7 separate regions of the Homo sapiens genome follow, and regions 2, 3, 4, 5, 6 and 7 are each linked to region 1. Evidence: promoter capture Hi-C in 16 types of primary human blood cells and fetal thymus (Javierre and others, 2016). All regions are on one chromosome and are shown on one strand. Each heading gives the region's core, a stretch centred on a gene start or on the middle of the fragment in contact. The rest is flanking DNA. Distances are from core to core; before and after follow the strand shown. Region 1 holds the start of DNAJB11 (DnaJ heat shock protein family (Hsp40) member B11). Region 2 has its middle 52 kb from the start of TRA2B. Region 3 holds the start of RPL39L (ribosomal protein L39 like). Region 4 has its middle 25 kb from the start of RPL39L. Region 5 has its middle 8.2 kb from the start of TRA2B. Region 6 overlaps ETV5 (ETS variant transcription factor 5). Region 7 overlaps IGF2BP2 (insulin like growth factor 2 mRNA binding protein 2).

Region 1 (3,799 bases), core at 1,230-3,729:
TATACAAGAATTTAAACTTAAATTCAGGAGTTTTAGCTCTATGACTTTTAGTTCAATTAATTTTTTTCTGTGTCCATTTAGAAAATGAGAATAAAAATATGCCTAGCTCTAATATATTTCCTGGTGTCCTAGTGAAGATTAAATGAGATGATACACATGAGAGTGTTTTGATCCCCAGATTAGAGGTTGCAAAATCAAATTAAAACTGTGCTCTGTTTGATTTATGTAAAAAAGAAATTTAACTGAATTAGTTACCAACACTTTTACAAGCAGAACTCATATAAAAAATCTAGATTTTCAACTTTTCTTGAAAAATTAAATCATCCAGGAACATACTGTTTGCATTTGTATGACAAAAACTGGCTGGGGTTGAGTAACAGCTGCTCCCTTGAAATGGGGCCAGAAGGCTTCAGTTTGTCAAAGTCCTCAACAATCCTTATTGCTTCCCAATATGGAGGCAGAATATCTGCTGCCATGTTTTAACTTATACCTGCCCTGCATGTTATTTGTCTAGTTCATATGAACATGCAGGTTTGCAACTCTCATGAAGGCTTTCTTTTTATTTTTGGTTCTAGCTCCCAAACTGATTGAACGACAGACCAATCAGTTGATCTACTTATTAATCTATAATAAGTTCAAGACTAGCCTGGCCAACAGGGTGAAACCCTGTCTCTACTAAAAATACAAAAATTAGCCAGGTGTGGTGGCATGCACCTGTAATCCCAGCTACTTGGGAGGCTGAGGCGGGAGAACTGCTTGAACCCAGGAGGTGGACGTTGCAGTGAGCGGAGATTGCACCACTGCACTCCAGCCTAGGCAATAGAGACTCAGTCTCAAAATAAATAAATAAATAAATAAATGTGAGCTGAAAGGAGTGTTTCTCTGTATTGTATGTTTTTTCTAGAGCTACAGATTTTATTCGTACTTTATCACTTTTCCCAACTCACCTCATAAGCAGCACCCAGATCCTGGAATTTCTCCTGGGCTTGTGGATCATCAGGGTTCCGGTCGGGATGAAGCTGCAGGGCTAGTTTCCTATAGGCCTTTTTAATATCCTTTATAGAGGCACTTCGAGGCACCCCCAAGATCTTATAGAAATCTCGTCTGGGAAGTAGAGGGAGAGAATACTTCATTAAAGAGTTACATGTTACATTTTTCAAAGTAAAAGATTTATTTTTCCTCTACATTTAGGTTTGTATCTGAGCAAAGAGGTATAAAAATGAAGGTTTATGTGACACATACACACACAAAGAATGACTAAAGAGAGAACACCAGAATTTGTAATGAATCTTATATATTGAAGTAATCACAGTAAGAGGCTATATACTTCTTTTCGGATTATTCAAAACATCTGTGGCACTTTTCTTTCAGAACCACCTTCGGTCAAGAAAACCACTTCCTTATTTTATGGTCTCATGTTATCTTTAGGCAATAACCATATAATCAAATTAACTCTTCCCCCCTTTCCCTATACTGGCTCCAAATGATTTTGACTTTTCTAAAAGTCAAATAACACTCTCAAAGGATGATTTTCCTTCTTTAAAAAGATTATGCCACATAAATGTCCTAACAGTAGCACTGCCAGAATGTTAAAGATGAAGCAACTTAAGATAATAAATAGCTCAAGAAGCTGGGAAGTACAAGGGCTGTCTAAAGATCTTCTTGTTCCCATCCCGCATCCAATTTCGTTCAGTCCCAACTCGGGCTGGCATCATCCACCCACTTTAATGTCAGCCCCAGAATGGCTCTTCGAAGGCTTGGCATAGAGCATCGTCCGCTTCTCCACCTCAGCGGGGCACAGCAACTCACCTCTTTGATCAAACAAACGTCCATCCCCTCAACCTCAGCCTGGCACTGTCACTATCTTTCCTTACAGTCAGGCATCCCTCTTTCTTCCCCAGCTCTACGTGACACTGCTTCAGCTCGCAACCACCTTCTTTCCCTCATCCCCCAAATGCCGTTTGGCAATGCATCCAACTCCCACTCCTCTGGGCAAATCTAGCTCTACCTAAGACCCTCTCTGGACCTAAGGCCCTCTCACTGGTGTCACCCACGGTTCTCCTCTCACCCCACTAGCCTGGCCCATACTACCCCTTCCTCCGCCACCCCGCCAACCCACAGCGATGCCCCTCTCCACTCCGTCAGTCTGGCAATGCCACTTCCCCCACCCCCTCCCACCCCCCAGCAAAGGCTGACCCACAGGCCCCGTTGTCTGCGAGTGTCTGTTCCTCACCCGGCAATCACCGCCCCGATGAGGTATAGCAGCAACAGGCAAAAGGTGCTCAGGTTCTGCGGAGCCATGGTTCCTCTGTCCCGGGTCCTGTTCCACACACTCCTCACAGCCTCCTCCGCCGCCGCGTCGGCTCGCCAGCCCACCCGGCCCTGTGAGGCCGCCTCACACCGGGGGGGCGCGGGGGTCTCCTTGGTCCGCAGAGACAGCTAGCTAGCCCCCTCTTCTGCCGGTCCACTTCCCGGGAGTCCCGAGTCCCGGTGAGAGAAGCCCCCGGTAGGCGAGAGCCAATCGTTGCCCGGGACATCACACGCGGCCGGCGCCTGGAAGCCAATCAGCGCAGTACACTTCACCTCCGAGGCGGCACGGGCAACCAGTTAGGCTTCAGAACTGCAGTCGCAGCTCTTGACCAATTAGAAGCGGAGACGTCAGAGGGTCGCGCCGCTGCAGGAACCCGCTCTGCCTGAGCTACCGCGAGTCGTAGAAAATTACGTAATGATAGGGGGCCGGTCAGAGTGAGGGCACCTGAGGTACACGAAATCCCTCCGGCTTGCCCACTTCCTCGGACTTTCCACCAATCAGGAGCTTCCTCCCCAGCACCAACCAATTGTGGGAGAGAAGTTTTCTCTGTGCTACAAGCCCGGAATTTCATTCATACCCAGCTACGCTCCGAATGAGGGAGCAGAGGTACAGCGGCCGAATGAGCGGGAACAGTTATTCCACGACAGGTGTACATCAGACGCATTGCTTAGGCCTCTTATTTTACGTTCTCCAAGCAACTCCATAAGACAACTGTCTCGGAAAGGCTACAGTGATGACAGACCGACTTAAGTTCGGATTCGGCTTCCACCGCTTCTTAGTGGTGAGACCCCCCACCCCTCCCCTCCTCCCAAGTCTGAGCCTAAGTTTATCAACAAAACTGAGGCAAAGCACTTATTGGCAGTTCTGTGAATTTTAACAGGGAAAAAAATCGGTAAATCATCGGGCGTATAGTAAGCAGGCAACGAGTAAAAACCATTATTACGGTTCAAGCAGAACTCTTTGATTCCCCATCTTCCCCCCGATTTTGCTCATCGCAGTTACACAACACCTAGTTGATCAGGACAAAGCTCTAGGTGTTTTTATTCCTTTCATGCATAAGCTATCCAACTCTTTACCTCTGAACTATACTTCAATCTGTTCACTACATCTCCATTACCAGGATTCTGGGTCACAGTGTATCTCTCACCTGGCCAGGGCCTCCTAACTGGCCTCCTTGCCCCCACTCTTAATATCTTCCTTAATATCTTAATATATGTTGCTCATCCCTGTCCCTCACTCCATGATTTAAAAAAAAAAAAAAAAAGCCCGGGCGCGGTGGCTCACCCACCCAAAGTGTAATCAGCACTTTGCGAGGCCGAGACGGGCGGAGCACCTGAGGTCAGGAGCTTGAGACCAGGCTGGCCAACATGATGAAACCCTGTCTCTACTAAAACTACAAAAATTAGCCAGGTGTGGTGGCGAGCGCCTGTAACCCCAGCTGCTCGGGAGCCTGAGGCAGGAGAATTGCTTGAACCTGGGAGGTGGAGG
Region 2 (3,354 bases), core at 177-2,676, 580 kb after region 1:
CAGAGATGGAAGAATTGAGAGTCAGGGAGAAGAAAGGATTTGGCAGCCAGAAACAAGATTTGAACATCGAACTGAGTCCAGACCCAGTGCCTTTTCCATGGAAGAAGGCTCTGTTTTTATATGTAAATAAAACCTTCTATAGCGTTTGATAAGAAAGAGAAGGGCATTCTCAGGGGAGAGGGGATCAGGAGTAAAAAGGTCTTTGGGGAGAACTTAGGATGTATGATTTAGAGTCTGAGGTCCACACGGCCAGGTTACACTGATACACAATGGTGTCATCATCACATGCCAGCCTGGAAGCCATGCCACCTGGACTTGAACCCAGATTCTGCCTTTTAGCACTCATGCCTCGGTTTCCCCTTCTGTCAGTGGTGCTAATCATAGTACCTGTACCTCCTTCATAGAGAATGTTGTGAAGAGTTAACATAAGAAAAGTACTTAGAAGAGGGCCTGTTATTTAAGATAAATAAGCTTAATGAAGATGTGCTATTATTACTATCATTGTTACTACTACCTCTTCCACTAGAGGGTCCTGGGAATGAGGCTTGGTTGACAAGGAAGGCCTTAGAATCTCAGGTTACAAAGTTTGAACCCAAAGGAACAAAAGTAAGAGAAGGTCAATTTTAGTTGAAACAGGATAAAAGTGTTTAGGACAATGAAACCAGTAGGAGTGTGTAGGCCTCCCCAACACGTCTCTCCATCTGGATTACGGTCCCAGCTAAGGGCTTCCTCCATCATCACACTCACCCCAAGACACTGTAGTTGCCTGTCAATTACCTGCCTCCCCAGCTGGACCATGTCTGTGTTACGGGTGCATCTAGTGTCTAGCGCAGTGTCTGGCACTAAGTGCTCCACAGATGCTCTTCTGATGAATGAAGGAATAGATGAATGGAGTAGAATGATAGTTTAGAAAAGGAAGAGTCTATGGGGATACCAGCCCAGGGGCAGGCTCTGGGCTAGGATGAAGATAGAGGGAGTGAGAGAAAAGTAAGAAATGCAAGAGGCATTTGGAAGAAAGGACAAATAGGAATTTGTGAATGACAGACTATGGGAGTTAATGGGAAAGGAAGAGTCGTTGACTGCAAGCCTGGGCTCCTGGATGCTGGCAGTGGCCCTGTTAAAGATGAGAAGAAAGAAAGAAGTTGGTTTGAGGGAGGAGATTTGCCCTTGACTTTACCCTTGTTGAGCTTTATAGAAGTTACTGGTGGTAGCTCACGTCTGTAATCCCAGCACTTTGGGAGGCCGAGGTGGGTGGATCACTTGAGGTCAGGAGTTCAAGATCAGCCTGACCAACATGGTGAAATCCTGTCTTTACTGAAAATACAAAAATTAGCCATCTGTGGTGGTGGGCACCTACAATCCCAGCTACTTGGGAGGTTGAGACAGGAGAATCACTTGAACCCCGGAGGCAGAGGTTGCAGTGAGCTGAGATCACGCCATTGCACTCCAGCCTAGGCAACAGAGTGAGACTCTGTCTCAAAAAAAAAAAGTAGTGGGGGTAAATGGGGTAACACAGGGCAGCGTTGGGTGAGAGGTGTTGGCTGGAGATGGAGAGTTGAGGAGAACCGATTTGGTAACCTCAAGGAATACCTCTTTTTCTGGAAAAAGGGTAAGTACCAAGGTAGTAGTGGGCTGACCAGTCAGAACCTTGGAGGAGCCCTGGGGAAGACAGGCTGAAATAAAACACAAGCAAGAGGAGGGAATATTCACCAGGTGTCTTAAAAGAAGAAGGGCAGCTCTTAGCTCTTAGGACCACTTGCTCCCCTTTTCCTTTCTTCGTCAATCCACCCTTTGCCCAAGACTTGCCAATGGAAGAATTGAAACAGAAAGGAAGGCCATTTTATATCAGAAAGCCGATTTAGCTTAAAGTGAAGCATAAGAAGAAGAGCAAGCCATTTCGGGTTTTGTTGCTGTTGTTGTTGGTTTGTTCAGTTTCCTGGAACCATTTTATTATAATCATGGCTATCATGAACCCATAACTTCTCCTTTCTGAGTTTCTACAGGAAAGCTACCACTGCTGGGTTCTCAGGAGGACAAAAGCACAAGACCATTTCTGCACTTTTCTGCTTCCTGCTGGTAGGTGGGAAATCAGGGAACAGAAAACTAATGCTCATTCACACTATGGTACAATGGAAAGAAAATTGGCCTTGGAGTCGAATAATCTTAGGTATGCTCTGCAAGGAATGGGCTGACTCCGCACCTTTCTGGGCTGGTTCCCTCAAACACTGCTGATAATGATTCTGAACTCAGGAGATGGTTATGATGACTGGATAAAGGGGTTAAGTACCTTGCACAATGCAGATGCTCCAGGCACACCAGCTCCTGGTAATTCTTGCTGTTTCTCACAGGAACCTCACAGGCCTCTGCCATCTGCAAGCTTCAGACGAGCCACACAAGAGAGGCAAGCTAGGAGCTCATCCCCAAGGGAGCTTTCAGACTCATGGTTTCAAAGAATTTTCACTTTATTACACATTTGTTCAGGCTTCAGTCTGATTTGACTAAAATGTAAAGACAGGGCCGGGCACAGTGGCTCATGCCTGTAATCCCAACACTTTGGGAGGCCAAGGTGGGCAGATCACTTGAGTCCAGGAGTTCAAGACCAGCCTGGCCAACATGGCAAAACCCTGTCTCTACTGAAAGTACAAAAATTAACCAGGTGTAGTGGTGCATGCCTGTAATCCCAGCTACTCAGGAGGCTGAGGGAGGAGAATTGCTTGAACCTGGGAGGCGAGGTTGCAGTGAGCTGAGATTGTGCCACTGCACTCTGTTGCCTGAGCAACAGAGCGAGACTCTGTCCCAAAAAAATAAAATAAAATAACATGTAAAGACAACCTCACATATTTGGGGTGGCCAGGGCAGCCTGGCTTCCTAAGCTAATCACAATGTACGGGTTCAAGTTTAACCTCATCTCCAAACAAAATGTCTATTTCTTGCCAAAAGAAGGCTCAGAAAGACTAAACTGTCTACCTCATCAGTGGTGTACTCATTTGGAAGGGATCCAAGAGTGTTGGAGTCTGGGCCAGCCAAAAGCACCCCAGCCACTTTTGGAGAGAGCAGGCGGAAGTGAGGGCTCTGATTTTCATGTTAAATCCTCATTTGGCCTCGGAAATGTTAAAAATAAACTTTCACCTGCATCTGATTTTCCTCTTTGTTATTGCAGCCATTGTCTGTTTGAACAAAGAGGTAGCAAGAGCCTCTTTGAGCAGTTCATAGAGTTCAAGCCAGAGCCCAAATTGGAGGGACACAGATGTTAATGAACAAGAGGACCAGCAAGAGTGCCACTGGGAATTAAAAACTCCCCTAGGATTTTCAGGTCCCTGATGGCAGGCAGGGGAACTACAGACCCCATTTTTC
Region 3 (3,801 bases), core at 229-2,728, 570 kb before region 1:
GTGCTTTCGTGATATGGTTTGGCTGTGCCCAACTCAAATCTCATCGTGAATTGTAGTTCCCATAATCCCCATGTTGTGGGAGGGACCCAGTGGGAGATAATTTAATCATGGGGCAGTTAACCCTCATGCTGTTCTTGTTATAGCGATTGAGTTCTCATGAGGTCTGATAGTTTTATATGGGGTTTTTCCCCCTTTTGCTCAGCACTTCTCCTTGCTGCTGCCATGTGAAGAAGAACATGTTTGCTCCCTCTTCCACCATGATTGTAAATTTTGTGTGGCCTCCCCAGCCATGGAGAACTGTGAGTCAACTAAACTGCTTTCCTTTACAAATTACCCAGTCTCCAGTATGTCTCTATTAGCAGTGTAAAAATGGACTAATACACCTTGAGAGCTGATATTTAAAAAGAGCCTCCCTCTCTACTCTCTCTTGCGTCTTTTGCCATGTGATCTCTGCACAAGTTGCTCCCCTTTCCCTTGCACCATGAGTGAAAGCAGTTTGAGGCTCTCACTAGATGTAGATGTGGGCACCATGCTTCTTATACAGCCTGTGGAACATGAGCCAGATAAATCTTTCTTCATAAATTATCCATCCTCAAGTGTTCGTTTATAGCAATGCAAATAGGCCAAAACAGTGATATAAAGATAAGGAGGTTTTTTGTTGTTGTTGTCTTCAAAGTTACTGACAAGGAATACAATGGGGTGTTAAGATTTGACACACACATTATTTCAGGAAAATAAATTTTAAAATCATATCCCAATGTCATTATTTGAGCATCAGCTGTAGTTGGGTAGTAAAGTGTAATATCAGGCTTTTGGCAACTAGTTGCATTGTTCATCAACAACATTAAGTCACCAAGCTTAAAACATCACAACAATGAATTTAATCAATGAACAATGAAATGTTATCAAGACCATTCACAAAATTAAAAGCAGGCCTGGCGTAGTGGCTCACCCCGTAATCCCAACACTTTGGGAGGCTGAGGCAGGTGGATGACCAAAGGTCAGGAGTTCGAGACGAGCCTGGCCAACATGGTGAATCCCTGTATCTACTAAAAATACAAAAATTAGCCAGGCATGTTGGCATGCACCTGTAATCCCAGCTACTTGGGAAGCTAAAGCATGAGAATTACTTGAACCTGGGAGGCGGAGGTTGCAGTGAGATTGTGCCACTGCACTCCAGTATGGGCGATAGAGACTCCTCAAAGAAAAAAAAAACAACTATATGAATTAAAGCTTACATTAACAACAAATAAGAGTTTGAATGTGTTATCCTGCATATGGAAATCAGATAGGTCTTTGAAGAAAAACTGCAACCTCCGCCTCCCAGGTTCAAGCGCTTCTCCTGCCTCAGCTTTCTGAGTAGCTAGGACTACAGGCACGTACCACCACGTTTGACTAATTTTTGTATTTTTAGTAGAAACAGGGTTTCATCATGTTGGCCAGGATAGTCTCGATCTCCTGACCTGGTGATCCACCCGCTTCGGCCTCCCAAAGTGCTGGGATTACAGGCGTGAGCCACTGCATCCGGCCAGAAAAACATTTTAAAATACTTTGTACACTATTTGAAATGACTATGGAATGCTTGTTTCAATCAATAAAAAAAAGAAATATGAAATGTGAAATGCTTGTTTCAATCAATAAAAAAAAGAAATGTGAAATGTAAAATTTAATAAAATTTAAATTTTAGATACATTTAAAATGTCAAAGTCCTCCTTAAGCTTCAAGAAAATAAAATCAATCTCCTTAAAATGAACAAATTATGATGAATTCGTCAAAAATATTTATATTGTGTTAACCTCATTTACCAAGACATTTCAAATTTACATCTTTGTGTCTGTTAAAGACAGATTTAGAAATACACTAATTTTATTCAAATACAGTTTTTAGTTATGATGATTAGATTTAAAGATATGTGTGATCGGTCAGTTTATGATTATGTAGAATAACATGTCAATATTTACAGGATAATGCAGGTAGGTAAGACACCTGTTCTACTATTGCATGATTTCATGATTTAACTGGTGTAATTAGGAAAGGTTTTAGATCTAATTCGAACTGTCATATCCACTTTTTTTTTTTTTTTTTTTTTTTTTTTTTTTTTTTTTTGAGATGCAGTCTCACTCTGTTGCCCAGGCTGGAGTACAGCTCATTGCAACCTCTGCCTCCAGGGTTCAACCGATTCTCGTGCCTCAGCCTCCTGAGCAGCTGGGATTACAGGCACCCGCCACCACGCCTGGCTAGTTTTTGTATTTTTGTAGAGACAGGGTTTCATCATGTTGGCCAGGCTGGTCTCGAACTCCTGACCTGAAGTAAACCACCCACCTTGGCCTCCCGAAATGCTGGGAAGATATACTTCTAATAACAGCATTTCCAACTACATTACTTGGTTGAAACAGTTGAAACTGCCATTGCAGTTGCAGTAAAGGTAACAAGAGGTAAACTTCTAATATGTAACAGGAGATTTGACTTTTCTCATATGTAACAGGAGATTTGACTTTTCATCTAGAATTAGAACCAAAATCGTTAAATTTGTATAGATATTTGCATTAGCAGAAATCCCATTTTGTTCATGTTGTTTTTAAATAAAGTGACTCGTTTAAAATTTAGTTGCATTTTAAAAATCTGTGTTATGGGAGTGGTAATACTGACTCCAGGCAGGGAAATGAGACAATTGTTAGAGACGCAGGGATGGAGCTGAGAGGTCCTCCTGGTCTCCAATGGCCCGGCGGTGGCTCGATGGGAGGGAGAGCGCCCCCTGGAGGCATTGGCGGTTCCTGGCTCGTGTGCTCGCGGGAACCCAAGCTGTGAGCCTCTGGCCCCGCCAGGGCGTACGAATCCTTTCCTCGTTTATCCAGTATTAAGTCACGCTGTGTGCTAAGTACCGTGGCCAGGCAGCAGCTAGACAACGCGCTGAGGTAAAATAGAGAACTAAGGAAGAATGGGGGACCCCAAAGTCAACTTGGTGACACATCACACGCAGGAGTCGGACCCACGGCTCCCCGAGCCACAGCTCAGTGGGGCGGGACCGCCCGGGCCTGGGCGGGGCCGGGGCGGGGCCTGTCACGGGGGAAATCACCGCCCTAGCATCCGGGGAAATCGCGGTCTTAGCATCCGGCGCGCGGCGGTTGAATTGCTGCGCCCAGCGAGGCAACCGCCTCCGAACGCCAGGTGGGGGCGAGGCGTCTCGGAGTCTCAGAGACACCAAGGCCCCTGCGACAAGGTGGCTGCAGCTAGGCCGGGGGCGTCAGGACGACGGAGCGGGTTCGGGTCGGTGACACGCAGACCTGAGGGAGCTGGGCCCGCCTTTTCCGCCCGCGCCCCAGGCCCTTGCAGATCGAGATTTGCGTCCTAGAGTGGGAAAAAAGCAGAGGCCAGGGCGCCGGTAAGTAAAGGTTCCTCCTCACCCGCCGCCAGGGCCCGGTCCGCCCAACGAGCAGGGCGGCGTGAGGGTCACGGGCTGGAAACAACAATGCCACAGCTCAAGCCGACTCCAACAGTAGTAGCGTTTTTGTTTGTTTGTTTGTTTGTTTGTTTTTTGAGACAGGGTCTCCCTCCGTCGCCCAGGCTGGAGTGCAGTGGTGTGATCTCGGCTCACTGCAACCTCCGCCTCCGGATTCAAGCGATTCTCCCGCCTTAGCCTCCTGAGTAGCTGGGGTTACAGGCGCGCGCCACCACACTCGGCTAATTTTTGTATTTTTAGTAAAGACGGGTTTCACCATATTGGTCACACCAGTCTCGAACTCCCGACCTCAGGTGATCCGCCCGCCTCGGCCTCCCAAAGTGCTGGGATTACAGGCGTGA
Region 4 (3,732 bases), core at 891-3,390, 540 kb before region 1:
TAAAAATAAATGATTGGAAATTAAAAATTTTAAAATACTACCATAGTACCATTTACAATACATCAAAAAACAAAATACTTAAGAATAAATCTAACAAAAATATGCAAAGGATTGTATGCTGAAAACTGCAAAACACTGCTGAAAGAAAGCAAAGCCTTAAATAAATGGAGAGATATACTGTATTCATAGATTGGAGAACTCAGTAGTGGTAAAATGTCATTTTTCTTCAAATTGACCTATAGATTTAACACAATTCCAATCAGAAACATAATAGGCTTTCCTGTAGAAATAAGTTGATTCTAAAATTTATGTGGAAATGCAAAGAATGTAGAATACCCGAAATAATTTTGAAAAAAGCAACAAATTTGGAGGGTTCATACTAACTGATTTTAGTTTTTTTAATTTTTAAAATTTTTTGTAGAGATGAGGTCTCCCTATGTTGCCCAGGTGGATCTCAAACTCCTGGGCTCAAGTGATCCTTCTGCCTTGGCCTCCCAAAATGCTAGAATTACAGACATGAGCCACCACACTGGGCCCTAACTGATTTTAACACTTATGGTAAAGCTATAGTAATTGAGCTAATGTAGGCTTGGTGAAGTAAGATAGACAAGTAGAATGAAGAAACAAGACAGGAAATTTAAAAAATAGATCGATGCATAGAGGATCAATGAACTTTTGACAAAGGTGCAAAGGCAATTCAGTGGACAAAGGATAGTCTTTACAACAAATTATGCACATCTACATGTTAAAAAAAAAACCCACCTTGATCCATATCTTGTACCATATACAAAAATAAACTCTAATGGGATCATAGACCTAAATGTAAAATCTAATGGTATAAAGCTTCTAGAAGACAGCATAAAAGAAATATTCTTAAGTTTGGGTGAGGCAGAGGTGTCTTAAATATGACAACAAAAACACAATTCATAAAATTAAAAACTTGATAAGTTGGACTTTATTAAATTTAAAATCATTTCTCTTTAAGACATTAAGAGAATGAAAAGTAACATCAGAAGCAGAATATTTGCTCTCTCTAGATATCTCTGTATACTACATATATCAAATAAGAGCCTTATATCCAGATTATAAAAAGAACTATCAAAGTTCAATAATAAGGAAACAACAATTTATAAAACAGGCAAAGAATTTGAACAGACGCTTCATCATAGATGATATGTAGTTGGCAAATAAGCACATTAAAAGAGGTTCATAGTGATATGCAATTAACATCATTTTTAGGATATACAAAATAAAGCTACAGTAAAATACCACTATTGACCTATAAGAATGAATAAACAAAAAAAAAAGCAAAAGAATACAGTTGACAATAGCAAGTGCTGTCAAGGATGCAAAGCAACTGAAATTCTCATACATTGCTGGTGGGAATAAAAAATAGGGAATAGTTTGGGCATTTTTAAAGTTAAACCTGTATTTACTCCTGGAAAGCTTTCTTCTTCTATTACAGTTCTGTTTTTGTTTTTTTAGGGACAGGGTCTCACCCTGTCACCCAGTTCAACAGTTCAATTATAGTTTTAAATGATAGTTACATTGTTTGCTATTTCTTCTTCATGTACTCCAGTTATACCAGTGTTGCTTTGGACTGTCTTCCCTGTCAATCACTTTCTTCCTGACCCATTTCACTTCTTTATTTCATTTCATTTTCTTGCTTGTTTGCCTTTGTTCAGTGCCCATATTAAATTTCCATCTGAGTACATTCTCCTTTGGGTGCTATAGCGAGGTGATGATGACCACGCCCACCCCCACACCCCAAAAATGTCTACTCAGAACCTGGGAATATGATCTTATTTGGAAAAAGGGTCTTTGCAGGTGTAATTAAGTATCTCAAGATAAAATCATCCTAGGTTTTCTGGTTGAGCCCTAATTCCAATTCCAAGTATCCTTAGAATAGAAGGAGAGAAGACACATAGAAACGATGGTAATGTGGGAAGGAAGGTGGAGATTAGAGTGACGCATCTATAAACCAAAGAACAACAAGGATTGCTGGCAGCCCCCAGAAGCTATGAAGGAGAGATAGAGCAGACCCTTCCCTCAGAGCCTCGGGAAGAAACAAGCCCTGCCAGCCCCTTGATTTGAGACCTCTGGCCTCCAGAACTGTGGGAAAATAAATTCCTATTGTTTCAAGCTCTCAGTTTATAGTAATCTGTTAAGATAGCCCTAGGAAACCAATATAAGTACCCTCTTAAAATTTATGTTTCAATCCTAAGATTATTTTTCTTTTTCTTTTATTTTCTTTCTGAGTTCAATCAACACACTGTTCATTACTTCCCATTTTTTTCTAAATCCATTTATATTTTAATTTCTGATTAAAGATAGTTTTTCAGGCCAGGCGCAGTGGCTCATGCCTGTAATCCCAGCACTCTGGGAGGCCAAGACAGGTGGATCACTTGAGGTTAGGAGTTTGAGACCAGTCTGGACAACATGGTGAAACCCCGTCTCTACTAAAAATACAAAAATTCCCTGGGTGTGATGGCGCCCACCTGTAATCCCAGCTACTTGGGAGGCTAAGGCAGGAGAATCTCTTGAACCTGGGAGGTTCAAAAAATAAATATAGTTCTAAAATTTATGTTTGAACCTGGGAGGTTCAAATATATACATATATACACACATATATACATATATATACATATATACACATATATGTATATATATGTATAGCTTTTCACATGTCTATACTTGTTTGAGGTTATTTGAGTCTGGAGTGTAGCATTGCAGTTTTCCTCTGCTTCATGGTCATTTTTGTATTTACCTCCCTTGGAGTGGTGGAAAATTTTTATCACTTGAGGTGTGTTGAGTCTCTTTCTTTAAGAAGCTTTGCATAGATTTATTCCATTTTTTGTAATTCTTTTTGTGGATGTGGGCTAATTTACAAGATTCTTCATTTAATGGTGCCCTCTTCTGTCAATGTGGTGAAGTACAGCTTCTTTAATGATTGTGTTTTGGTACTTGGGGGAGGAATAGTGTGTCTTCCAGGAGATATCCAAGCCTGTTATGCACACCAAAAAATATAAAGCTCTATCTTAAAGGCTTTACCTTTCAAATCCAGTATAGTTGAAATTTATTGTCTCTGAAGGAAGAACCTCCAAGAGCACACAACACGGTGTCCTTGCATTACTGTCAGGTGATAACTTCACATTTCCTTATATGGCATGTTTCCTCTGAGCCATCCATTCCCACCTTCACCCTGCTGCCTCCTCCCATGTGCCCTCTCTCTCTAAAAACCACGTTCTGGTATGTCCCACAAAAGCAAGGAGATGTAAACTAAGAAAGAAGCAGTGTGAGGGAAAAAGGAACAAGATTCACAGAGGAGCAAAGGAAATTCCTAAGATGATGATGAAATGAAGTTCTAGGAGAACACTTGTTTAATGTAGGGTTAGAGATCACCAGTTCAGGAGAGACAGCGCCCCCAGAGACTCCCCTCCAAAATGAAGCTTATAGGCCAGGCGTGGTGGCTCATGCCTGTAATCCCAGCACTTTGGGAGGCCAAAGCGGGCGGATCGCTTGAGGTCAGGAGTTCAAGACCAGCCCGGCCAATGTGACAAAACCCTGTCTCTACTGAAAATACAAAAATTAGCCAGGTGTGGTGGCACACACCTGTAGTCCCAGCGACTTAGGAGGCGGAGGTGGGAGAATTGCTTGAGGTAGGGAGGCAGAGGTTACAGTGAGCCAAGACCATGCCACTGCACTCCAGCCTGTGCGACAGAGTGAGATTCT
Region 5 (3,393 bases), core at 744-3,243, 620 kb after region 1:
ATGATACTTGTTGACAAAGTATTTTCTCTAAGTATTCTTCTTTTAGGAATCTATCTTAAGCAAAAAAGTTTAAAACTCAGATATAAATTTATATACAAAAATACTCAATTTTGTTATTTAAAATGTTGAAAAACTAGAAAAAACAAAGAAAATGATTAAATAAATTATGTACAGCCATATGGTAGAATATTATGCAGCCAGTATTATACATGCAAGATATAACATCACTTTCATAATCAGGACAAAAAAGCCAATTACAACATTCCATTGCCAACAAAAAAATTCAGTGCTCAGTGTATAATTAGTCACTTAATTACTCCATGTTAAATAAAAATTCATGGATGAAAGCAAATATGATTTATAACTTCCAAATGTATAATAAGATTTTAAAGAATATCCAGTTTTATATTTGTATATTCAACTGCCTACTTGACAACTTCTACTTTGATGTTTCAAAGCATCTCAAACTTAATTCAAAATCAAACTCTTGTCCCTTTAGCCCTGCCCAAACTCCTTCTTCCTCAAGTTTCCCCATCTCAGTATGGGGCACCATAGACCCTCTTGAGTTCTTGACATCTCCATCCCCTTACCCTATTACAAGTCCACTCAATTCTGGACTCAAAATAGATCTACCACTGCCCTTTTTTCTCTATCTCCTTTGCTATTACTGTGTTGCAATGGTCTCTTACCTGGACAAATGCAATAGCTTCCTAACTGGTATCCTAGCTTTTACCTCCTTCCAACCCATTCTCCATCCAATGGGGAATGTAATCTTATAAAAATAAAAACTGAGTCAAGACATTCCCCCTAATTAAAACATTTCGATAGCTTCCCATTGCATTTATTTAATTATTTATTTATTTTTGAGGCAAAGTCTCACTCTATTGCCCAGGCTGGAGTGCAGTGGCACGATCTTGGCTAACTGCAACCTCTGCCTCCCGGGTTCAAGAGATTCTCCTGCCTCAGCTTTCCGAGTAGCTGGGGTTACAGGTGCCTGCCACCACGCCTGGCTAATTTTTGTATTTTTTTAATAGAGGCGGGGTTTCGCCATGTTGGCCAGGCTGGTCTCGAACTCCTGACTTCAAGTGACCCATCCACCTGCCTTGGCCTCCCAAAGTGCTGGAATTACAGGTGTGAACCACCGTGCCCAGCCCCCACTGCACTTAAATAACATCTGACATCCTTTCCATGACCTGCATAATCACTGCTGACTTATTATGAGTTAGACATTGTTCTAAGGGCTTTTTATGTAAAATAGTAATTCTTTGGATCCTGACAACAAGCATAGGAAGTAGGTATTATTATCATTCCTATTTCACAGATGAAGCCACAGAGGCACAGAGGTTACACTTGCCCAGGGTCTCTCAGAGAGCTACTGTGGAGGCAGGAAACAACCCCAGGAAGTCCAAGCCCTGCTCTCTGTACCACAGTCTCTGGTCCTCAGATGGACCCACTGGGATCCCATGGTTGGGTCTCTCTGTTCCTGGAACCCGACAAACATCCTCACCCCAGTGCCTTTGTGACCTTGCTAATCCCTTCCCAGGAACACAGTTTTCTCTGCTTTTTAAATGGCTGGCTTCTCACCCTCCAGGTCTCCATAAATAGGAATGGTATAATAGGTTATGGCACATATTTGCAACGGAATACCATACAACTGTTTTAAAATATGAGATAAATCTATGTGTACTGACGTGGAACAATATTTAGCATATTTTAGATTGCTAAGTGAAAAAGGCAAGTTACAGAATACCATGTTAAAATTTAAAAATATGAGCGGGGCATGGTGGCTCATGCCTGCAATCCCAGCACTTTGGGATGCTGAGGCGGGTGGGTCACCTGAAGTCAGGAGTTCGAGACAACAGCCTGAGCAACAGAGTGAGACTCTGTCTCAAAAAAATAATAAATAAAAATTAAAAAATAAAAAATATGTATAGCATGATTCCATTTGTTTATGAAAAGAAAATTTTAAGGCTGGGCTCAGTGGCTCATGCCTGTAATCCCAGCACTTTGGGAGGCCGAGGCGGGTGGATCGTGAGGTCAGGAGATCGAGACCATCCTGGCTAGCATGGTGAAACCCCATCTCTACCAAAAATACAAAAAATTAGCCGGGTGTGGTGGCAGGCACCTGTAGTCCCAGCTACTTGGGAGGCTGAGGCAGGAGAATGGCATGAACCCGGGAGGCGGAGCTTGCAGTGAGCCGAGATCTTGCCACTGCACTCCAGCCTGGGAGACAGCAAGACTCCGTCTCAAAATAAATAAATAAATAATAAAAAAATAAAAATAAAAATTTAAATTTATCTATCTAAGGTCTAGAAGGTTATGCACTACATTTTTTAACTAGGGTGACCTCTGAGGAGCGAGACTGGGAAAGAGAGGATAGAAAATAGGGTTTGCATTTTTCACTTTGCACATTTCTTATTGTTTGAATTTTTATCCCCACCCTATATTAGTAACATAATAATAATTCTAAGACAAAACATTTTCTTCATATGTTTAATGTTTGAGCTCTAAATTTTGTTATTTGGGTATTCTAATTTTTATTCTCTTCCTCTCTTTCCCAGATTTATCTTAAGTATCTGGAGAAAGTCTTTTATTTCATTCTTCTCTCTCTCTCTTTTTTTTTTTATTTTTTTGAGAAGGAGTCTTGCTTTGTCGCCCAGGCCGGACTGCAGTGGCGCTATCTCGGCTCACTGCAAGCTCCGCCTCCCGGGTTCATGCCATTCTCCTGCCTCAGCCTCCTGAGTAGCTGGGATTACAGGTGCCCGCCACGGCGCCCGGCTAATTTTTTGTATTTTTAGTAGAGACGGGGTTTCACCGAGTTAGCCAAGATGGTCTCGATCTCCTGACCTCATGATCCGCCCACCTCGGCCTCCCAAAGTGCTGGGATTACAGGTGTGAGCCACCGCACCCGGCCTCTCTCTCTTTTTTTTTTTTTTTTTTTTTTTTTTTGAGACAGAGTTTCACTCTTGTCACCCAGGCCGGAGTGTAATGGTACGATGTCTGCTCACTGCAACCTCTGCCTCCCAGGTTCAAGTGATTCTCATGCCTTGGCCTCCCGAGTAGCTGGGATTACAGGCATGCACCACCACGCCCGGCTAATTTTTGTATTTTTTAGTAAAGACAGTGTTTCACAATGTTAGCCAGACTGGTCTCGAACTCCTGACCTTAGGTGATCCACCTTTTTTAGGGTTCAGAACATTGAAAGTGATTGGTTGTTTCAACTCAATTATCTACAATACGTAGCCATAGTCAGCATAGTAACTCAATGTTGTTCTTAATTTCCACTCAGTCCTAAGCTGGTTCGTGAAGACCTGCCTTAATGAAGTCTCAAAGTTTTTGACTTCCACATTCATACTTCCAAGTAGTGAGTGGGTGTTCAGTCACTTTTTATAC
Region 6 (3,457 bases), core at 732-3,231, 520 kb after region 1:
TTAAAAGGTGAATGATAGCCCGTCGGTGTGTAGAGAGACTTAGAAAAGCTGTAGTCCCATGCCCTCCATTTTTGAAGGGAAAATTGAGGTTCACAGAGGTTAAGACTCATTAGTGACTAAACCAGGACTGGAAGCCGTGCAACTCCCAGCTTCTGATCTAGGATTATTTCCACTGTGCTCTCCTGCCTCACTCTCCCACACAAACTAATTTTTGGGGTTGGGCTTTAAGGTAAAACCAGCGTACAACACTAACTAGAGGTGGTTGATTGGTAGAGATGTGGAAGCAGAGCCATACTTGTTCAATTAAAAAAAGATTTTAGAATCACAGCAGAATGACTGAAGGGCAGGATTAAACTCAACAGTTTGCATTTTTAAATCTAAAATGTTTATCTTATCAGTAAATTTGGCTGCCTTCCCTTCCCCCTCTGCGTCTCCAGACAGAAGCCGATTATTGGGTTTGATTTTCGGTATTAGGTGCCTCTTGTACTATTGCTGAACAACCAGCAGAGAGAAGGTGATCCCATTGACGCAGATGTCTCATCAGCCACATACCATGAGGTCCTTGAACAACCAAGACCTTCTGGTTCTAATATTATAATGCAGAAAACCCATAGAAAGGTAGTTAGCGGTTCCCTCAGTGTAGCAGAGCCATGCGGTGAGTCATTTAAAGCTGCAGGTAAGCCAAAAGCAATTCTTTTCAGCTTTGGAACATACTTAAGGCTTCTGCGCAGGCTCGCTCTCATCAGATTTCTAACCTTTCTAAATAACAAGGCCATACTGTGAAGACTGTAAACTCTGGAAGTGACTAAAAATGTGGTCAGGCTTCTGCCTTGCACCTGTCAGTCCTTAAACCTTTTTGGAACACCAGACTCCAGGCTCAGCATAACCATGCTTTCAAAGCTGTCACTGGAAGACAGAAAGTGAAGATTTTCTTTTAAGAGTCCATCTAGTGTGAATTCGAAATTCAGATATCTTCTTTTTTAACTGCTGTAGTGTCAGTAAAACACTTGGCAGATAATAGGTTCCCAGGAGTTCTCAAAATAAGTCTGAGTGATTGGGGTAATCGGCTGCTCCTTTGGTCCCTGGCTTTGTGACTTAGGAATACCTCGTTCTCTTCCCCTGATCCCATGCCCTGTTCCAACTGGGCCCTGTAAGGTGTGTGTTCTCCCGCAGGTGGCTGGAGAGCGATACGTCTACAAATTTGTCTGTGACCCAGATGCCCTCTTCTCCATGGCTTTCCCGGATAACCAGCGTCCGTTCCTGAAGGCAGAGTCCGAGTGCCACCTCAGCGAGGAGGACACCCTGCCGCTGACCCACTTTGAAGACAGCCCCGCTTACCTCCTGGACATGGACCGCTGCAGCAGCCTCCCCTATGCCGAAGGCTTTGCTTACTAAGTTTCTGAGTGGCGGAGTGGCCAAACCCTAGAGCTAGCAGTTCCCATTCAGGCAAACAAGGGCAGTGGTTTTGTTTGTGTTTTTGGTTGTTCCTAAAGCTTGCCCTTTGAGTATTATCTGGAGAACCCAAGCTGTCTCTGGATTGGCACCCTTAAAGACAGATACATTGGCTGGGGAGTGGGAACAGGGAGGGGCAGAAAACCACCAAAAGGCCAGTGCCTCAACTCTTGATTCTGATGAGGTTTCTGGGAAGAGATCAAAATGGAGTCTCCTTACCATGGACAATACATGCAAAGCAATATCTTGTTCAGGTTAGTACCCGCAAAACGGGACATAGTATGTGACAATCTGCATCGATCATGGACTACTAAATGCCTTTACATAGAAGGGCTCTGATTTGCACAATTTGTTGAAAAATCACAAACCCATAGAAAAGTAAGTAGGCTAAGTTGGGGAGGCTCAAACCATTAAGGGTTAAAAATACATCTTAAACATTGGAAAGCTCTTCTAGCTGAATCTGAAATATTACCCCTTGTCTAGAAAAAGGGGGGCAGTCAGAACAGCTGTTCCCCACTCCGTGGTTCTCAAAATCATAAACCATGGCTACTCTTGGGAACCACCCGGCCATGTGGTCGCCAAGTAGAGCAAGCCCCCTTTCTCTTCCCAATCACGTGGCTGAGTGTGGATGACTTTTATTTTAGGAGAAGGGCGATTAACACTTTTGACAGTATTTTGTTTTGCCCTGATTTGGGGGATTGTTTTGTTTTGGTGGTTGTTTTGGAAAAACAGTTTATAAACTGATTTTTGTAGTTTTGGTATTTAAAGCAAAAAAACGAAAAACAAAAAACAAAAACAAACCTTTTGGTAACTGTGCACTGTGTCCTTTAGCCAGGGCCGTGCCAACTTATGAAGACACTGCAGCTTGAGAGGGGCTTTGCTGAGGCTTCCCCTTGGCCATGTGAAAGCCCGCCTTGTTGCCTGCTTTGTGCTTTCTGCACCAGACAACCTGATGGAACATTTGCACCTGAGTTGTACATTTTTGAAGTGTGCAGGGCAGCCTGGACACAAGCTTAGATTCTCTATGTATAGTTCCCCGTGTTCACTAACATGCCCTCTCTGGAAAGCATATGTATATAACATGTGTCATGTCCTTTGGAAACCTGGTCACCTGGTGAAAACCCTTGGGATTCTTCCCTGGGCATGACTGATGACAATTTCCATTTCATCAGTTTGTTTTGTTTTCCTTTTTCTTTAAATCTTGGACTTTAAACCCTACCTGTGTGATTCAGTAGGGTTTGAGACTTACGTGTGATACTGACAGGTAAGCAACAGTGCTAGCATTCTAGATTCCTGCCTTTTTTTAAAAAGAAATTATTCTCATTGCTGTATTATATTGGAAAAGTTTTAAACAACCAAGCTAAAGCTATGTGAAAGTTGAGCTCAAAGTAGAGGAAAAGTTACTGGTGGTACCTTGCTGCCTGCTCTGCTGGTAGAATTCTGTGCTCCCCGTGACACTTAGTACATTAAGAATGACTACACTGTTCCTCGTATGTGAAGGAGGCAGTGCTGACTCCGTGAGTGTGAGACACGTGCTTTGAACTGCTTTTCTATTCATGGAGCACTCCATAGTCTCAAACTGTCCCCCTTATGACCAACAGCACATTTGTGAAGAGGTTCGCAGGGATAAGGGGTGCACTTTATAGCTATGGAAACATGAGATTCTCCTCTATTGGAAGCTAATTAGCCCACAAAGGTGGTAAACCTGTAGATTGGGCCTTAATTAGCATTGTACTCTAATCAAAGGACTCTTTCTAAACCATATTTATAGCTTTCTTAACCTACACATAGTCTATACATAGATGCATATTTTACCCCCAGCTGGCTAGAGATTTATTTGTTGTAAATGCTGTATAGATTTGGTTTTCCTTTCTTTACTTACCCTGGTTTGGATTTTTTTTTTTTTTCTTTTGAATGGATTTATGCTGTCTTAGCAATATGACAATAATCCTCTGTAGCTTGAGCTACCCCTCCCCTGCTGTAACTTACGTGACCTGTGCTGTCA
Region 7 (3,714 bases), core at 698-3,197, 750 kb after region 1:
AAACATCACAAAAGTCTTCAGTGTTCTTTTCAGTGTTAGAAATTAGTGGGCTTGGCTAAGCTAATTTTTAAAGAGTTCATGCTCTAAAACTTTCAGTCAAAAGCATTATCTCTCAAAAGCTATGATTAACTTCTTAAATTGAGAGATGGGAGTGTTCTGTTTAACAAAACATGCCCCCAGAATTTATTAGTAAAGTTTTATCCTTCTTATATTCAAATTCATGTTCAAATTATTTTGGGTATTCATTCAAAAGCAGTATCATTGAACAAATAATAGCAAATAAACAGCAAACACCTACCAATGAAGATAAGTCTTTCCTCCCATTTATCATCACCATTAAAACATTTTAAATCTTTTACTTTATAATTTGACTTCATGCTTACAAACTTATAATTTTCATTTGGTGGCATGGACTCTATGGGTTCTATTTTAGGCAGCAAAATTGCAGAGTGCTCAGAGCATTATTTTTAAGGTTTTACTTTTCCTGTTTTGATCATGGACTTTAGTCTGGTCTCTCCATAAAATAGTGAAGAAAAATTATTTTCTTTTGTAGAAAACTTCAGATTCTGTTGCTTGGCTGCCAAAGGGAAGAAGGAATACAATAATTATTTCTTTAATTTGGTTTAGAGTTTGATGGTATATTGAGATAGAATAAGTACAACAGTGAAAATGGATGCTTTTGCATTAATAGGAGGCATTCAAGCCCAAAAGCTAGCCCTGTTCCATCATTTGATAGTTATGTCTCCTCCCCAAGCCTCTGCTTTTCACTAAATAATATCTGTATTTTTGAGATACATTTTGTTTATTCCTCATTATTTATCTGTTCTACACTTTATTTCTTAAAATGTGAACATTCAGATAGGATTTTCCCATTCTGTTTAGTGTCAAGGACATTTCATAAATAAAGCAGATATTTTAATAAGTCTGATAAATGAAAATTAAGAGTTCTGATGTATGTTTTGAGCTTTCTCTTATTTACCCATATCAAAATAAATGTTGCATCTAATGACCAGAAAAATTTGTATGGGAACATTGCAATAAGAATTATATTTTCAGTTTTTCTTATTGTCATGTAATTAATGTGTCTCAAAGTAAGGATTTGCTGTAGTGGGAAGCTTGAATTTTTAAATTTTTGTTTTAAATGTGATCAGAAAGGTTGATGATTTCATGTATTGATATTTAAACAATGGTAGTAGTATTATCTCAGGGAGGAGTATTTTTTGCCTGCATCTTAATATTCATACAGTACTGATGCTGTTCCAGCCTCTTTGACACATTATTTCATTTATTCCAAATAATAATTTTGTGAAAAATAGGACAATTGATACTATCTCTTTTTTTGGATGAGGAAACTCAGCCCCAGACAAGCTTAATAATTTGTTTAGGCCACATGACTGTTAATTAAGTAGTAGGGCTAGAACCCAGGTCTTTTGAGGTCCCTGAGTCTCGCTCCACTGTACTTCCTCCCCATTTAACGTTTTACATTAAAGAAGTCAGCTGAATGTGTTGTAAAGTTCGAAGAATGCTGTTCGAGGGTGGTAGAAATATATGAAAATACATTTGTGAATTGAACCTTTGCAATGATGCTACATCAGTCTGAGTGATCTGTACTTTGCTATAGTTTTTAGAAAAAAATAGTTAGAAATAGAGGTAATTTTAAAGGTAGCATTGCACGTCTTCCCATCTCTGTGCTTGCCCACAGACAGAAGTGGGGAATATACCTAAGCAGGTTGTGGGGTTGTTGTTGTTGTTATGTTGCTTTTTTCGGCAGTTGTGTTCCTGACATAACAAGACAAACATTTCTTTCAACATCTGAGCCACACAGATTAGACAGCGAACTGTCACCCGGGTCAAGACTATGTGCCATGTGGTGAATGAAAGTCTAGCTCAAGGAATCTCCTGGGTGGGTTCTTCACGGGGTTCAGACAGCCTGTTGCAAAGGTCAGGGCTGTGTTGTGGTTTACGTGTTTCCCTGGTAGGAACTGCCAGGTCTTTCCCAGAGGTGGTATCTTTCTCTACGTCACTTTCTGTACTGAATAAGGCCTTGGGCCTCTCATACTGTCTTGACTATGGGGTGAGTGTTAATAGGGATAGTATCCATAAAGTTCTGAGTTCTTTATTAATTTTATAATCGCACAAAAAAATATGCTAAATAATGAAGCATGTGAAGTACAGTTCATTTCCCCTCAACTGTAAACTTTTCCTGCATTTATCTTCGTTTCCTTTAACTCTTATGGACTGTTTATGGTGCTGGTGGGAGGGAGAGAGGAATTATCAAGGAAAAAAAAATAGGTGAAAGAAGGTTATTTCCAACTCCCCATGCATTTCTTTGAGTTAGTACAGTCCAGAGTGGGATATGGCATTTTCCGTGGAATTCTGACTCAGGAGATGGGGGAGAGGAAGAGAGTTAACTAATACTGGGTGGCTGCTACGTGCTAGGCACTGGACTAGGCTTCCTGTTTTATCCTCCCCACAGCCTGAAGAGATCCGTCTTTATCCTTCTTACACAAAGGGCTCTAAAGCTTCAGACTCTAAAATAACTCCTTGCTCCTGACCAGAACTTCAGAAGGCAGTGGCTTGTTGTCCATCTCATTTGAATACTGCAACAGAACCTTAGCAATGAAGTAGAAAGTTGTGATAATATGTATACAGGCTATAAAGTAACTTTGTATATTATTCCTAACTTAGAATAAGAGAAAATTTCCATATATAAAACCTATGCTGAGAAAGATTAGGAACTCAAGTTCAGTATATTTTTAATTTAATATAATTGAAAAGAATTAAAAGTGTTAGTCATAATTTGAAAGAACTTCCTTGAAGTAGTCCTATAGTAGAAGCATTTATAATTATATAAAGAGAAAGAGGTTTTTTTAAAAATCATTGTGGTTGACAGTTAAGTGTAAAAAACATACATGTATGCAGTGTGGGAGGAGGGCCTGTTCCATGCCTTTGACCCAGATATATATATTTTTTCAAATCCTGAAAAAAAACTTGAGGTTTTTTTGTTTAGGATACAGAATGTTGCACAAAGATTGGCATGCTTTCATTTTTATATGTATTTTTAAAAATATCTGTGTCTTAGAGAAGGAAAATAATGGAATTTTTGTAAATTGCTTTTTAGAAAATGGTTCACCTTATTAACAGAACATTTTAAACCTCTTTGACACGTGAAAAAGTCAGTGAAAGCACTTTTTGATACAATACTTAAGTATCTTATGCATTTGTTACTTTTATCTCATGCATTTTGTTACTTTTTTGGTTTAGTAACATAGGACTTAAGATACAGTTAAACCACCAATGAAATGAGATATATAAGAGGTTTTCTTCTAGATAGACGCCATGCTTTTTGACAAGAACATAATTTTATATAATTTATGAGATAAAATAATTACTTTCCTCAGTCAAGAACCTCTAATAGAGCTTTAAAAATTACCAGGAAAGACATTTTTATTACTATATCTTTTCTTTCTCTTTGAAAAATGAAACAAAAAATCGAGTGGTGATTCTTTGGACAGGTTAACCTCATACCAATTCATTAAATAGAGGGTGTTTTTGAAAAAGCTCATGTGAGGATAGGCTATATAGTATTTTTGGATTACATGGAGACCTTTTACTTTGGTCCCTACTGATCCTTGTGATTTTTAACAATGCATACTTCGAAATTTCAGTGGATGTTTTTCTTTATCATTGTATGAATAAGGTTTTGAAGTACAA

Evidence for each region. Contacts are between HindIII fragments. The CHiCAGO score rates a contact against its expected background, and 5 or more counts as called.
Region 2: a fragment that was not itself captured here is called in contact with the fragment with the promoter of DNAJB11 in region 1 in 1 of 17 cell types (activated CD4 T cells); the score reaches 7.4 in activated CD4 T cells.
Region 3: a fragment that was not itself captured here is called in contact with the fragment with the promoter of DNAJB11 in region 1 in 5 of 17 cell types (non-activated CD4 T cells, total CD8 T cells, naive CD4 T cells and 2 more); the score reaches 7.9 in non-activated CD4 T cells.
Region 4: a fragment that was not itself captured here is called in contact with the fragment with the promoter of DNAJB11 in region 1 in 1 of 17 cell types (total CD4 T cells); the score reaches 7.1 in total CD4 T cells.
Region 5: a contact is called between a fragment that was not itself captured here and the fragment with the promoter of DNAJB11 in region 1, in 13 of 17 cell types (non-activated CD4 T cells, naive CD4 T cells, fetal thymus and 10 more). The highest score is 25.1, in non-activated CD4 T cells.
Region 6: a fragment that was not itself captured here is called in contact with the fragment with the promoter of DNAJB11 in region 1 in 1 of 17 cell types (total B cells); the score reaches 5.4 in total B cells.
Region 7: a fragment that was not itself captured here is called in contact with the fragment with the promoter of DNAJB11 in region 1 in 1 of 17 cell types (fetal thymus); the score reaches 5.1 in fetal thymus.

The regions. Positions count from the first base shown.
Region 1 is chr3:186,569,400-186,573,198 of GRCh38, reverse strand. DNAJB11 (DnaJ heat shock protein family (Hsp40) member B11) reads right to left here and starts at 2,479. Exons shown (of 10, transcript NM_016306.6): 1 at 2,234-2,479; 2 at 948-1,104. The coding sequence starts at 2,301. It also overlaps a transcript of TBCCD1 not described here. RefSeq lists a silencer at 2,228-2,467. The HindIII fragment of the contact is 6,099 bases long and covers 1-3,799 here.
Region 2 is chr3:185,988,635-185,991,988 of GRCh38, reverse strand. No RefSeq gene overlaps it. Among named protein-coding and RNA genes, the nearest start is that of TRA2B, 52 kb to the right of the region's middle. The HindIII fragment of the contact is 1,906 bases long and covers 474-2,379 here.
Region 3 is chr3:187,138,794-187,142,594 of GRCh38, reverse strand. RPL39L (ribosomal protein L39 like) reads left to right here and starts at 3,099. Exons shown (of 3, transcript NM_052969.3): 1 at 3,099-3,382. RefSeq lists a silencer at 2,959-3,188 and enhancers at 3,229-3,378, 3,419-3,518, 3,387-3,801. The HindIII fragment of the contact is 485 bases long and covers 1,236-1,720 here.
Region 4 is chr3:187,112,581-187,116,312 of GRCh38, reverse strand. No RefSeq gene overlaps it. Among named protein-coding and RNA genes, the nearest start is that of RPL39L, 25 kb to the left of the region's middle. The HindIII fragment of the contact is 1,384 bases long and covers 1,449-2,832 here.
Region 5 is chr3:185,944,485-185,947,877 of GRCh38, reverse strand. No RefSeq gene overlaps it. Among named protein-coding and RNA genes, the nearest start is that of TRA2B, 8.2 kb to the right of the region's middle. The HindIII fragment of the contact is 4,953 bases long and covers 1-3,393 here.
Region 6 is chr3:186,046,577-186,050,033 of GRCh38, reverse strand. ETV5 (ETS variant transcription factor 5) reads left to right here. Exons shown (of 13, transcript NM_004454.3): 13 at 1,174-3,457. The coding sequence ends at 1,395. Among named protein-coding and RNA genes, the nearest start is that of ETV5-AS1, 31 kb to the left of the region's middle. The HindIII fragment of the contact is 971 bases long and covers 1,496-2,466 here.
Region 7 is chr3:185,814,308-185,818,021 of GRCh38, reverse strand. All of the region lies in intron 2 of IGF2BP2 (insulin like growth factor 2 mRNA binding protein 2), which reads left to right. Among named protein-coding and RNA genes, the nearest start is that of IGF2BP2, 8.9 kb to the left of the region's middle. The HindIII fragment of the contact is 1,154 bases long and covers 1,371-2,524 here.